Regions from separate parts of the Homo sapiens genome. Here region 2 is linked to region 1. Evidence: promoter capture Hi-C in 16 types of primary human blood cells and fetal thymus (Javierre and others, 2016). All regions are on one chromosome and are shown on one strand. Each heading gives the region's core, a stretch centred on a gene start or on the middle of the fragment in contact. The rest is flanking DNA. Distances are from core to core; before and after follow the strand shown.

Evidence for each region. The method cuts DNA at HindIII sites, captures the fragments that hold promoters and counts their contacts. A CHiCAGO score of 5 or more calls a contact.
Region 2: a contact is called between a fragment that was not itself captured here and the fragment with the promoter of RASAL2-AS1 in region 1, in 1 of 17 cell types (M0 macrophages). The highest score is 5.4, in M0 macrophages.

The regions. Positions count from the first base shown.
Region 1 is chr1:178,089,910-178,097,283 of GRCh38, forward strand. RASAL2-AS1 (RASAL2 antisense RNA 1) reads right to left here and starts at 4,084. Exons shown (of 2, transcript NR_027982.1): 1 at 3,652-4,084; 2 at 1,599-3,503. It overlaps RASAL2 (RAS protein activator like 2), which reads left to right and starts at 4,195. Exons shown (of 18, transcript NM_170692.4): 1 at 4,195-4,785. The coding sequence starts at 4,584. RefSeq lists an enhancer at 3,671-4,172 and silencers at 3,794-3,843, 3,894-4,193, 4,264-4,423, 4,574-4,633. The HindIII fragment of the contact is 4,675 bases long and covers 2,586-7,260 here.
Region 2 is chr1:178,352,799-178,360,172 of GRCh38, forward strand. The region is part of intron 3 of RASAL2 (RAS protein activator like 2); the gene reads left to right. Among named protein-coding and RNA genes, the nearest start is that of CLEC20A, 140 kb to the right of the region's middle. The HindIII fragment of the contact is 2,394 bases long and covers 1,987-4,380 here.

The DNA of each region.
Region 1 (7,374 bases), core at 2,834-5,333:
ACTTCATCAGCCAAGGATTTATCTTCACATTAAAATCTGGGTTGGCTCTGGGGAGATACCACTGGTGTAAGTTCAAGTAGGATTAACTGCCTCCCAGCAATGCAAATTGGTTTCCAACTTTTTTGTTTTGTTTTTTCTTCAATATTTTTTGGGATATTTTTCTTAAATGATAATAATTTGCAAAAACCATGAAATATTATTTTTGGTTCTACAAATGTCAGAACACCAAAGAAAAACACTCTTCAGGAATCCAGATCTATTAATGAAATTAAAAATTAGGGGACTTGAGTTTTAATCTCAATCTCCTAAGTAGCCATGTTTAGGTAGGTTGCTTAATACAATTCTATGCTTAATTTTTTTTTTAAATTCTCTAAATGATGATTTTAAAATACTGGTTCTACTTATCTCACAGAATTATTGTTCAGGTTGTGAAAGTATTTTCTTTCTTTCTTTTCTTTTTTTTGAGACAGGGTCTCATGCTGTTGCCCAGGCTGGAATGTAGTGGTGCAATTATGGTTCACTGCAGTCTCAAACTCCTGGACTCAAGTGATTCTCCTGCCTCAGCCTCCTGAGTAGCTGGGACTACAGGTGTTTGCAACCAGGCCCAGTTAATTTTTTTCTATTTTTTTGTAGAGATGAGGGTCTCACTATGTTGTCCAGGCTGGTCACAAACTCCTGGGGCTCAAGTGGTCCTCCTGCCTCAGCCTCTAAAAGCACTATGATTATAGGTGTAAGCCACCATGCCTGGCCTGTGAAAGTATTTTATTTTTAAGTTATGAACACTAGATAAATTTCAGACATACTATTACTTAGGCAATTAGATAATGACCTGCTGCTAGTCTGGGGTCAGGATAGGGAGGTGAAGCAGGGACCAGTATCTGGAACGTTTGGATTTAAAAAGTAGGATTATTGAAAATGGATTAAAGACTTAAATGTAAAACCCCAAACCATAAAAACCCTAGAAGAAAATCTAGGCAATACCATTCAGGACATAGGCATGGGCAAAGACTTCATGACTAAAACACCAAAAGCAATTGCAACAAAAGCCAAAATTGACAAATGGGATCTAATCCAACTAAAGAGCTTCTGCACAGCAAAAGAAACTATCATCAGAGTGAACAGGCAACCTACAGAATGGGAGAAAGTTTTGCAATCTACCCATCCGACAAAGGTCTAATGTCCAGAATCTACAAGGAACTTAGACAAATTTACAAGAAAAAAACAAACAACCCCATCAAAAAGTGGGCAAAGGATATGAACAGACACTTCTCAAAAGAAGACATTTATGCAGCCAATAAACATATGAAAAAAAGTTCATCATCATTGGTCATTAGAGAAATGCAAATCAAAACCACAGTGAGATACCACCTCACGCCAGTGAGAATGGTGATTATTAAAAAGTCAGGAAACAACAGATTCTGCCAAGGCTATGGAGAAATAGGAATGCTTTTACACTGTTGGTGGGAGTGTAAATTAGTTCAACCATTGTGGAAGACACTGTGGCGATTCCTCAAGGATCTAGAACCAAAATACCATTTGACCCAGCAATCCCATTACTGGGTATATACCCAAAGGATTATAAATCATTCTACTATAAAGACACATGCACATGTATGTTTATTGCAGTGCTATTTACAATAGCAAAGACTTGGAACCAACCCAAATGCCATCGATGATAGACTGGATAAAGACAATGTGGCACATATACACCATGGAATACTATGCAGCCATAAAAAAGAATGAGTTCATGTCATTTGCAGGGACATGGATGAAGCTGGGAGCCATCATTCTAAGCAAAGTAACACAACAGAAAACCAAACTCTGCATATTCTCACTTATAAGTGGGAGTTGAACGATGAGAACACATGGACACAGGGAGGGTAATATCACATACTGGGGCCTGTCGGGGCGTGGGGGAAAGGGGAGGGAGAGCATTAGGACAAATATCTAATGAATGCAGGGCTTAAAACCTAGATGACGGGTTGATAGATGCAGTAAACCACCATGTTTACTGTAACCACCATGTTACATAGGTATACATAGGCACATGTATACCTATGTAACAAACCTGCATGTTCTGCACATGTATCCCAGAACTTAAAGTTAAAAAAAAAATAGTAGGATTACTAAAAAAGCAGGATTACTGGCGGTTGGCAGAGGCCTTTTCTTGAGCTCAGGAATGGATGATGCCACTGAAAGAGCAGATGTGGAAATAAATTCTGGAAATGTTTCGCATACCACTTGTAATGCTGTTTTTAAGATAATTGCTTGGGTAAATAAATTCCTTATACATTGACTAGTAAAGAGATACTCAACTTTGTACATTTGATGCCATATTCACTTGCTGTCTAACTTATGTTACCATGGCATTAATTTAGTATAAATAAAAATGCTCTAGGTCTACTCAGTGCTGAGCCTTGAAATCTCAGCACTCAACATCTCTTATCCACTAAAGCACACACTGTTGTTTACACGTGGAAGACTGACTATGCAGCCAGTCTAGTAAGCAAGCAAGCAAGCAAGCAAGCAGGGTCCTAGATATTAAAAATGACCATTCCTGTAAACCATCAAGCCACAAATCAACAAGCTTAATCACAAAAGTTTCTTGAGGGAACAAAGTTGAAGTAATATCCATTGAGTCATTGTGGAACTATCTGTACTTGTGGTTGATTAGCCAGGTAAGCTGGTTTTTCCTCAGTTTCCTCACCTGTTAAACAAGAGGCAGAATGATGTTCTCTCTAAAACACTTCTTGCTTTGAAATACTATTACTCTAAATAAGACTTTGGAGAAACTCACAAAATACATCCTTGTTAACTCTCAATAAGCCCAAACAATATTCCAGGACCCCACAAAACCAGAAAACTAACAGGACCCCTTGTAGACCAGTCTCTTTGTGCAACGTAGGGAGAAAGGGCGGGGGGGACTAAAGAACCTCCCAAAAGGTATTAAAAATAGCAACATGTAATTATGAAAAATCTTGTTCCACATTAGGTAGCCACATTCAAGAAAAACTGTTGGAGATCTACTATGTCCAAGGCACGGTTTAAGTTATTACTGTTCAATTTTGAAATTATTATTGTTAACTTGTCAGTAATTTCTTAAACCTAAACTGGTGAAACTCTCCTTGGGTGGACATAAAAGTAAAGCCATGGCCAAGGAGGGAGACAGTCTACAAATAAACCAAAAATAAAATACAAGTGACATCATTAAAGGAAAAAAGCCAACACACTGCACAAAGATCAAAGACAAAACAGAGAAACATGTTTGGTTAATACTGGGCTTTGAGTATTTCATGTGCCTGAGAGGCCCGTCCGTCCATCCACACCACACTTCTTCACCATGCTGTTGCAAACCAATGACAAGTTCAGCTTCAGCGCGGACAGGGCGCAGGGCGCAGACCCTGTGCATATCCCAGAATCCCGGACCCACTGCCACTCCACTCTGGGAAGGAAGAAGGCGCTCCCCCTTGGGTGACTGTAAGATAAAGCAGCTTCTTCGATCTCTTTGTCCAATAAGAAAGAAACGTTGGCCCATAAAGAAAGAAAGAAACAAATAAATAGGAAAGGTGTGAGAAGGAAGGGAAGCTCCTTTCTTTTCTGTTTAAATTTCCCGCACCCTTTTACCTCCCCGCCTTCTCAAACGGTCTTTACTTTGAGCAGCAGAGACCCGGACCGCTCAATACCCGGCTATCCCTGGGAGGGTACTTGGAAAGTAGGCGGGACAGGCCGGATGAATAATTCGGTGTCCGACTTTTCCTGCCTGCGGCGCAGTCCCTCCCCGGCTTCGTTACTCGAGTGCACACGCGGCCGGGCTCTCGGCCCTCGATTGCTTCAGCCTATCACCCTGGGATGCCGCCTGCCGCTGCCGCCGCCGCCGCCGCCGCCACCGCCACCGCCACCGCCACCGCCACCGCCGTGGCTGCCGGGTTTGTGGGATCCGCCGCGGAGCAGGAGCCAGAGCTGTGGCCGGAGCTGTGGCCTGAGAGTCAGGGGGCGGGCAGGCTCATTCCAGAAGTGGGGGCCGAGGACAGGCGGGCTAGAACCCGGGGCCACCGCCCCCTACCCCTCCTCAGGCTGAGGGAACGGGCACTCGGAGCTTCTGAGGCGGCGGCGGCGGGAGCCGGTCAGAGGGGGCGGCCCCTGGCGGCGACGCCCCCAAGCCCAGCCCTGCCCGGCCCCGCTCCATCCCCAGCCAGAGCCTGGTCTGACCGCGAGAGACGCCGGCGGGGCTGAAGAAGGCGGCTCCGAGGAGGTGGGAGGGCGAGCCTCCCCTCCCGGGTTCTTCTGCGTCCTCTCCCGGGAGGGACCCACACACACCTGAGCCCGGACCCACCCTTGGTCGGGGCCACGCTGGATCCTCCTCCCGGCCTGGGTCCCGCCCGCCGACTGCAGGTGGGCTGCATCGCCCGAGCCTCGGGCAGTGGGCGACGGGGAAGGAGGTGAGAGGTGTCCGCGCCGGCTGCCGCTCGGGTCCCTGCCCTCGCTGCGCGCTCTCCTCCTCCCCTTACCGCAGGCAGGGCGCGGAGCCGCGCGCCAGCCCGCCCCGAAGCCGCCGCCTCGTCCCCCTCCCGCCTCGGGGCACCATGGAGCTCTCTCCGTCGTCCGGAGGAGCCGCGGAGGCGCTGTCCTGGCCGGAGATGTTCCCGGCGCTGGAGTCCGACTCGCCGCTGCCCCCGGAGGACCTGGACGCGGTTGTCCCAGTCAGTGGAGCCGTCGCCGGTGGCATGTTGGATCGGATCCTTCTGGAGTCCGTGTGCCAGCAACAGAGCTGGGTCCGGGTGTACGGTAAGGACCACAGGCCGTCTTAGAGGCTGGTGTTTCCTATTTTTGCTTGGGCTGAAATTCATTCCCTAAGTCACAGGCTCATTCCCAGTCCTCATCCGTGCTAGGTCAGTTTCCCACATCCCTTTTTGTTCTGGGGGTGCATTTCTGACAAGTTTCTTCAGACTATCACTTGGGCAGGGATGTCACTCAGTATGGTCTTTGGACCTCTTCAGACACCTGCAGTAAGTTTAATGCGGGAGTTGGGCTATCCAAGACGTAATTCTTAGGCGATTACTTCAAGGGAACAGCCAGGCAATCAATCTTCAAGAAGGTATGATGGAAAAACTCCATGAAACCAAGTGAATGGATTTTCGTCTCTTTTTATTGTTGAATGAGGCAAGACTGGAAACCAAGATATTATGAAAAAGCAGAGGATAAGCTAATGAATGAAAAAAATGCAAACTATGTATTTGGTGGGAGCAAGACTAATCTATAACCTCTGCCTGAACCTCACTCTCTCTAAAAGCAACCACTTATTCCAACGGGTGTGGATTGTTTCAGATTACACTATTGTTTCTGAATCTCGTTGTAAAGTGACTGGGTTGCCACTCAGCAGGTTAAAAGTGATGAACACACTAAAACTTTCCCTTTCTGCATTCCTGGTAACCACCTCTTTAATTAAAACTGAATGATGAGATTCTATTAGGGTGAGCCTTGTGGCAGCACTAAAACCATGCTGGTTTTGAAAACTCATAGCTTAAGGATTTATAGCCTGGCATTCAGGACTGAGCTGTGGCTTTCCAAAATATTGAAACGGCAAGATGTTTATCGCCTAGCTCACGTGACTGCAGAAGACATTAGTAACGTGGCTGAGTATAAGATGGCAAATTTGAAGCACCTGGGATCAAACACAATGTTAAGATGTTATCCTGCAGTCTTGTGCATCTAAGCCTGTAGTGATCAAGTACCTTATGTTTTTTTCTTTCATCTTTCTGAACAGGGTATATGCTTACTATTCAAGAGTGACCAAGACTTAGGTTTTTTTCTGTGTAGTTCAGTTGATTTGAAGACTTAATGTCCATCGCAAAGATCATAGAACTAGGAGTCCAGAGATCTCAGTTCTTGTCTCAGTTCTACCACTAAATGGCTATGGGATTTGGGGCAGATCGAGTCACATTTTTGGCTTGTGATTCCTCATCTGTAAAGTGAGTGGATTGGATTAAATCATCACTAGTGACCCTTTTAATCATAAAAATCCAGGAATTCTTCTTATAACCAGTTCTTAAGGATTTGTGTACCACTTTGTATTTTGCTGGCTGTTTCTTGATGTTACTCTACGTACCGGAAGATTTAAAGCAAAGGAGTGGGAGACGATGCAAGGTCACCCAGTTTGTTCTCAGCAAATTAGATTAAAAACTTTGGTGCCTGATTTTCCGTCTGCCTGCTAAATCCCACTTAGCTGGTCATTTAGAACAAAGGTTGGTGAGAATCTGAAAGTGCATATGAATTAGAGTATATTGTAGTTACAACGTTTTCCCATTCTATCATCTTTCTCTCCTTACACACTTCTTTGGCATACTGTTTATTTGTGTGATGTTAGAAATAGGGCCATGCTATTCTAAGAATACATGTATATGATAATTCGGTATTTCAGTATCCAAAACAATCTGGGTTCTCTGGACCTAGTGTTAACTATCGTTCTTCATTTGTAAGGACATAAAAGTCTACAAATGTATGTTGTTTTGTAGTCCATTCCTAGGGGTTGATTTGTGAAATATATATTGTATATTTTGTGTGTGTGTGTGTGTGTGTGTAAGAGAGAGAGAGAGTGAGAGCAAGTTTACATTATGTTTTTTTTCTTTCGTCCTTCTGAACAGGATATATGTTTATTGTTCAAGAGTGACCACGACTTAGAAGTTTTCTTTCTGCGTGGTTCAATTGATGTCAAGACTTCATATCAGACATCACAGAAATGCATGGTATGTATATGTGTGTGACACACACATATACATACCATGCCTTGCATTTTTGTGACCAATTGCAGACTTACCACTGCATTGTAACTTTTTTTGTTTTCTCTATCAATTAACCAGAAGTTGTTTTTATTTATTGTTTAGTATTGCTACTTTCCTTCCTCTGAGGCAGCTCATCCTGGATACTATTTTGTTGTCTTTAGTTTATGTAAATATTTCAGAACTATTGGAATGACTCTTGGCTATGTCCTTAGCTAGTTTTAAGTTGCCTATTGTATGAACAGGGTGTATGTTTGAAAACTTTGAAGTAAAAACTTTGAAATAAAAGTAATAGAATGTAGAAAAACAATTTGGAGAATACAGAATTTTTGTTTTTCTTGTTTCTTGTCTGTGTGTTCAAAACCTTCGTTGTCTTGGATCACCTAGGTTCTTCTCACAATTTAAAGAGACTTTGATGAGTGTAGTCTAACATGTTTCAGGGAAATCTACAAATTGGGAACCTAGTCTAGAGGATACAACTAGAAGCTTAGAGTATTGGTTTCATTCTGGCTTTGCCACAAGTTGGTTGTCTAATTCTGGGCAGGTAGTTTTAACTCATGGCCTCTAGGTTTCAGCATAAAAGTGGAATCTGGAGTAA
Region 2 (7,374 bases), core at 1,934-4,433, 260 kb after region 1:
ACTCTGTGTACCCACAGGCTTAACACCATGTATTTAAGGCTTTCAGCTTGTACTGTCTGAAGCAGCAGCCTAAGCTGTACCTGGGTCCCTTTGAGCCATGGCTGGAGTTAGACAGCTGGGACACAGAGAGCAGTGTCCTGAGGCTGCATGGGGCAGCAGACCCTGGGCCTGGCCCACAGAACCATTTTGTTTTCTTGGGCTTACAGGCCTGTGATGGGAGGGGCTGCTGCCAAGGTCTCAGAAATGCCTGCAAGGCCTTTTCCCTAGTGTCTTGGCTATCAGTACTTGGCACCTTTTTACTTATGCAAATTTCTGCAACCTGCTTGAATTCCTCCCCTGAAAATGGGCTCTTCTCTTCTACCACATGGCCAGGCTGCAAATTTTTCAAGCTTTTACTGTCCATTTCCCCTTTAAATATAAGTTCCAGTTTTACGTCATGTCTTTGCTCATGCGTATGAGCATAGGTTGTTAGAAGCAGCCAGGCTACATCTTGATTACTTTGATGCTTAGAGATTTCTTCTGCCAGATATACTAAATCATCACGCTCAAGTTCAAAATTCCGTAGATCCCTAGGACAGGGGCAGAAGGCCACCAGGTTCTTTGCTAATGCATAACAAAAGTGACCTTTGCTCCAGTACCCAATAAGTTCCTCATCTCCATCTGAGACCTCTTCAGCCTGGACTTCACTGTTTATATCACTATCAGTATTTTGGTCACAACCATTTAACCAGTCTCTAGGGAGTTCCAAATTTTCCCTCATCTTCCTGTCTTCTTCTCAACCCTCCACACTCTTCCAGCTTCTACCAGTTACCAAATTCCAAAGCTTCTTACATATTTTAAGGTATCTTTATAGCAGTGCCCAACTCTTCAGTACTAATTTTTTGGCTATGATGTAATCCAGTATAACACAACTGTAATCATGATAGTGACTATACGTCACCTTGGCCATGTAATGTAACCTAATCAGTGGAGTGGCTATCCCATCATATTACAGATTCCAGGCCCCTGAGGGTAGAGAATTATACAAGGGTGTGGTGGCTCATGCCTGTAGTCCCAGCTGCTCAGGAGGCTGAGGTGGGTGGATCACTGGAGCCCAGGAGGTCAAGGCTACAGGGTGAGCCAAGATTGTGCCACTGCACTCCAGCTTGGGTGACAAAAATGAAACCCTGTCCAAAAAAAAAAGAAGAAGGAAGATACATTTTCAAATTACAAATTTTTTTCAGTAAAAGAGACTACACACATCAGCTACTTTTATACCACCTAGCAATGACACATCATGAAAGGACAATTACAGGGAGTTTTACTCATTATTATAGTTCCAGAAATCCTAAAAAAAATATTAGCAAATGGAATAATACATTATGACTAAAGTTGGGTTTATAACACAAAATGCAAAGTAGATTTAATATTAGAAAGTTAGAATAGTTTACCATTAATGAACTAAAGGAGAAAAATCTTAAAATCATCTCGATTGAGCAAAAATGACATTTAATAAAATTTAACAACTATTCATAAGAACTCTTAGCAAAACAACAATAGAAAAGAATTTCTTTACTCTGATTAGTGATATCTACAAAAACCCATCGACAAATATATGTAATGGTGAAAAGCTTTCCCTTTTAGATGAGGACCAAGGCTGGGATGTCCATTATTATCCTTGCTATTCCACATTGTATTGGAGGTCTCAATCAATACAGTAATCAATACAGTAAGGTCTCAATCAATACAAGAAAATATGTAAGGATTAGAAAATTAAAACTTCACAAGTGATGTGATCATTTAGAAAATCCAGTAAAAACTTTACAGGCATTGAGTTTAGCAAGTTGCTAGATAACAAGATCCATAAACAAAACCTAATTGCATTTCCATAGATCAACAATAAACTGAAAGCAAATTTTTTGAGATACTGTTTACAATAACAAAATGTAATAACCTAGGAGTAAATCTTTTAAAAGATGTGTAAAACATCTAAAAAGTAAACTATAAAGCTTTATTAGGAGAAATTTAAGAATAATCTAAAGTAGATATATACTACGTTTCTGGAGTTGGAAAACTGGTTTGTATGGTGTTAACTTTTACCCTAAATTCCTTTATAGATTCAATGTAATTCCAGTTTTAAAAATCTTGTGAAGCCTGGGCAACATGATAAGCCCCATCTCTACAAAAAATTTGAAAATTAGCTGGGCGTGGTGGCACATGCCTGTGGTCCCAGCTACTTGGGAGACTGAAGCAGGGAGGATCACTTGAGCCAGGAATTCTAGATTGCAGCGAGCTGTGATCACACCCCTGCACTCCAGCCTGGGTGACAGAGCAAGACCCTGTCTGTCTGTCTTTCTCTCTTTCTTTCTAGGTATCTATATATTTGTATATATTAGGATAGCCAAAAACTCTTTTAGAAACCTAATTTAGGAGGACTTGCTCTGTCAGCTATTAAGGCTCTTTATAAAACTATATTAATTGAGACAAAGTGGTATTAGTGTTAGAAATAGACCAATGGAACAGAATAAAGAGTCCAAAAACAGACCTGTGCATATATGTACATTTTACTTATGATAAAATTGACACTGCAGAGTGGTGGGGAAATTAAGATCTTTTCAATAAATGATCCTGGCTCATCTGGAGATCCATATGGAAAAATAAAGTGGAAGTGGATTATTTCTTAACAATTTACATAAAAATGAATTCCATCTAAATTGTAGACCTACGTGTAAAACACCAAATAGTAATAATACCACTTTTAGAATATATTATAGCATCTTCATGACCTGAGGATAAAGAAGTAATTATTAAATCAAATAGAAAAAGCACCAATTATAAAGAAGAAAAAGGTGATAATGTTTATTAATATTAATAACTTCTGTTTGTCAAAAGACACTACTGAAAGTGCAAAAAGTCAAGCTATATAAACCAACAAAGAAATTATACCAGAATATTTCAAGCATCCCGACAAATTGAGAAAGACAAAGCCCAATAGAAAAATGGGCAGAGACTTAATAGGCACTTCACAAAAGAATATAACCAAATGGCTGTATACATTTAAAGAGGTGCTCAGCCTTATCAAGGAATCCCAAGTTAAAACCACAACAATGGGGCCAGGCGCGGTGGCTCACGCCTGTAATCCCAGCACTTTGGGAGGCCGAGGCAGGTGGATTACGAGGTCAGGAGTTCAAGATCAGCCTGGCCAGGATGGCGAAACCCCATCTCTACTGAAAATACAAAAAATTAGCCGGGATGGTGGCGGGCACCTGTAATCCCAGCTACCTGGGAGGCTGAGGCAGAGAATCGCTTGAACCCGGGAGGCAGAGGCTGCAGTGAGCCGAGATTGTGCCACTGCACTCCTCCAGCCTGGGTAACAGAGCAAGACTCTGTCTCAAAAAAAAAAAAAAAAAAACCCACAAGATACCCCCACATAATCTCCAGATTGGCTAAGATTTAAAATCAGATGATACTAAAGTTGTCAAGCATATAGAGCAATGGGAACTCCTACATTGCTAGTGGGAGTAAAAACTTGTACAGTTTCATTGGAGAACACTTTAGCATTATCTAATAAAATTGAAAGTAATGCTAACCCAACATAAATACATGCTTATGTACATGAGGATGCATGTACAAGAATAAACAAGCATCCATAATGGCCCCAAAATGGATACAACCTGGAAAAAAATCAGTAAAATGAGTTTTAAAAAAGTGACATCATCATGTAGTAAAATGAACAAACTACAGTGACACACAGCAACATTAATAAATCTTTAAAATATAATATTTAGTAAATCAAACTAAAAAGTATATCTTCTTATACTATTTATATAAAATTCAAGAAAAGGAAAAAGAAAACATGTTGAGATATGCACATTTCAGTGCTAAAACTAAATAAAAGCAAGGAATGTTTACCCCGGAAATAGGTATAGTGGTTATCTATAGGGTGAAAGGAATTGGGATCAGGATGGAGTATTTGGGGAATCATTTGTTGCAGACAATGTTCTAATTCTTGCTATGGCGGTATTATAATTCATTAAACTCTACATTTATGTTTTATGCTATTCTCTGTGGGGCATCATATTTCACAATAAAATAAAGGCATATATTGAAGACATTTTTATTTCATCATATCTATACTTGTTATCCTTAAAGGCTGCATCTTATTCCATTGTAGATTTATCTGTTCCCCTCCTTTTGAATAGTTGGAGTGTTTTTGTTTTTTGCAGTTGCCAACTTTGAGTTAAGCATCTTTGTACATATATCTGTGTTCATTTGCTTGTGCTGGTATTTCTGTAGGATTGGTTTCCAGAAATAGAATCAAAAGATAATTTGCATTTCATATTTTGATAGATGCTGTTAAATAGCCTTGCAAATTTGTTCAGCCTGTCTTTTGCTATTTGAAGCTTTTAATTTTTTATTGTTCAATCTGTCTCTCTTTTCCATTGTAATTTCTCGCTTTTGTGTCATGCTTAGAAAGCCTTTTTCAACTTCAGTTTATGTCTTTATCCGGAATTTATTTTTGGTTATGTGAAATGAGATTTTTTTTCAGCCATATAGCTAGTTGTTTCAGTGCTTTTTTTTTTTTCGAATGGTCAGTTCTTTGCACAGTGATGTAAAAGCTACCCTTTATCATCAGCTAAATGTCTATATGTCTTTTTCTACTCTACTGATCTATTTCTATATCAATGTCACAGTATTTTAATGATTATAGATTTTAATGTTTTTCTCTTACTGATATAGGGAATTCTAATTAGTTTTTCCTTTCAAAAGGTATTTGGCCTTTTATTCATGTACTTACTTTTCCAAATGAATGGTAGTATCAAGTCCCTCTGTACTCTCAGCCAAAAACAAAAAACAAAAAACATGTGTTGACATTTCAGTTGGAATTACAATGAATGTATAGATTATTTGGGAGATAATTTACTTTCATACACATTTTTAAATTTTAGTCATTTTTAACTTTATATAAAGAGCATGTTTTATATATTCTTTTGAACTTTTTCCATGTAAATATTATATTACTCATATCTCTCCATATTTTTGCTATAGTTTATTTGACTACTGTATAATTTTTACATTGTTTGAATATAACAACAAATTTAGATTAAGAGTTGTGGTTGGGGTTGGTATTCAAGTTCAGTCTCTTATTGAAGTATATTTTTTAAACAAAAAACAAGGCCAGGTGTGGTGCCTCACACCTGTAATCCCAGCACTTTGGGAAGCTAAGGAAGGCGGATCACTGGAGGTCAGGAGTTCAAGACCAGCCTGGCCAATGTGGCAAAACCCAGTCTCTACTAAAAATAAGAAAATTAGCCAGGCGTGGTGGCATGTGCCTGTAATTCCAGCTACTCAGGAGACCAAGGCACAAGAATTGCTTGAACCTGGGAGGCGGAGGTTGCAGTAAGCCGAGAAGGCGCCACTGTTCTCCAGCCTCCGTGACAGAGTGAGACTCTGTCTCCTAAAAAAAAAAAAAAAAAAAAAAAAAAAAAGGAAAGGAAACAAACAAGAAGTATTGACTATAAAAGACTGGTGGGGTTGGCCATTATATTAAAATTATAAACTTCTGTCCATCTATAGACTTTAAGTAAAGAAGGTAAAAAGACCAGTTAGAAACTGAGAAATGATATTCACAAGACCCACAATTTTTCACAGGATTACTATCAAGGACATACAAAGAACTGCTATCTATTAATAGGCTGAGCATGACCAACTCAATAGAAAAGTGGGCAAGAGATATAAAGAAGACTTTCACAAAAGCATAACATATATACCCATAGACTTATGAAAAATGTTCGGTATTACTGGTAGTCAGGATATGCAAAATCAACCATCTTATCTTCATTCCATGAGAAACACTAAAAATTCTGACAATACCAAGTATTAATATTGAGCAGAATGTAGATGACTCAGGATTTCATATATCCTGCTGGTGGGAAAAAGTTTGGCATTGCTGAAGTTGAACATTTATATACCCTAAGCCCAGAGATTCTATTCCTATGTATATACCAAAGAGGAATTCCTACAAAGGATAAAAGAAGACATTTGCAAGGATGTTCACAGCAGCACTGACACCAATAGCAAAACTCTTAACAAAGGAAATACAATATACTTCAATAAGAGACTGAACCTGAATACCAACCCCAACCGCAACTCTTAATCTAAATTTGTTGTTATATTCAAACAATGTAAAAATTATACAGTAGTCAAATAAACTACAGCAAAAATATGGAGAGATATGAGTAATATAATATTTAAATGGAAAAAGTTCAAAAGAATATATAAAACATGCTCTTTATGTAAAGTTAAAAATGACTAAAATTTAAAAATGTGTATGAAAGTAAATTGTCTCCCAAATAATCTATACATTCGTTGTAATTCCAACTGAAATGTCAACACGTTTTTTGTTTTTTGTTTTTGGCTGGGAGTACAGAGGGACTTGATACTACCATTCATTTGGAAAAGTAAATACATTAATAAAAGGCCAAATACAGGATTTTGTCAGTTGCCTTTTCAGCATGTACTGATATAATCATTTTGTTTTTACCTTTTAATCTCTTAATACAGTGTCATAATGATGTTGTATTAAAATATTTATTCATTTCTCCCAAGTCACAAAAGTAAAGCCAGGAAACTTAAATATAGCAGGTCATTGAAAATACAAATTTGTTCTTTGCAGTATTCTTAAAGCCTTAGAATTTTTTGTGTTTTGTCATCCAGCATACCGACCTTGTGCTCATCTTTTTACTCTGCTTATCTACTTTCATTTTACAAAACATCATTTTGGAATTTCCCAAGATACTTAAATTTTTATTATTTATTAACTATGTGCAGAAAAACTTGGGGTCTCTCTTCATGCCAGCTAATTACACTACTGCTGTAAAATGAAGATGCAATTAGGGAAAGCAAGGCAGCAACTTACTACCATTTATTCTATGCTGTAGTCAGATGATGATGGTGAACTCTGATTTTGTTATAAATGACTGTAGATCTTTGATAAACCTTTGATGTTACTGTTGTTGAATTAATTTCTCCTGTCTTACAGCGGCCTCTGTTGACCCCAAACCTTAAGATCTTTTTAGCGTATGAGACCTTAATAAATGATAGAAGAAGAAAAAAAATTGTGTTTGCAATTTTGTGATTTTTTTAACATATGGACTCACAGATTATATAAGCTTCAGGTCCCACAACACATGAGTCTGCCTCTGGGTGTAAGGGGTGAAGAGTGGGGGTTTTATTTACCCCAGTTCTTGCCCACAATTGTGCTATCACTGCTAGAAAGCTGATCTCTATGATGGGGAGCCAATCGTTGTTTACTTTACTTTCAGTAATTAAAGTTAATTTAATCTACTTGATTAAAATTTTATCTCATATCCTATTTAACTCCACCCCCAACCC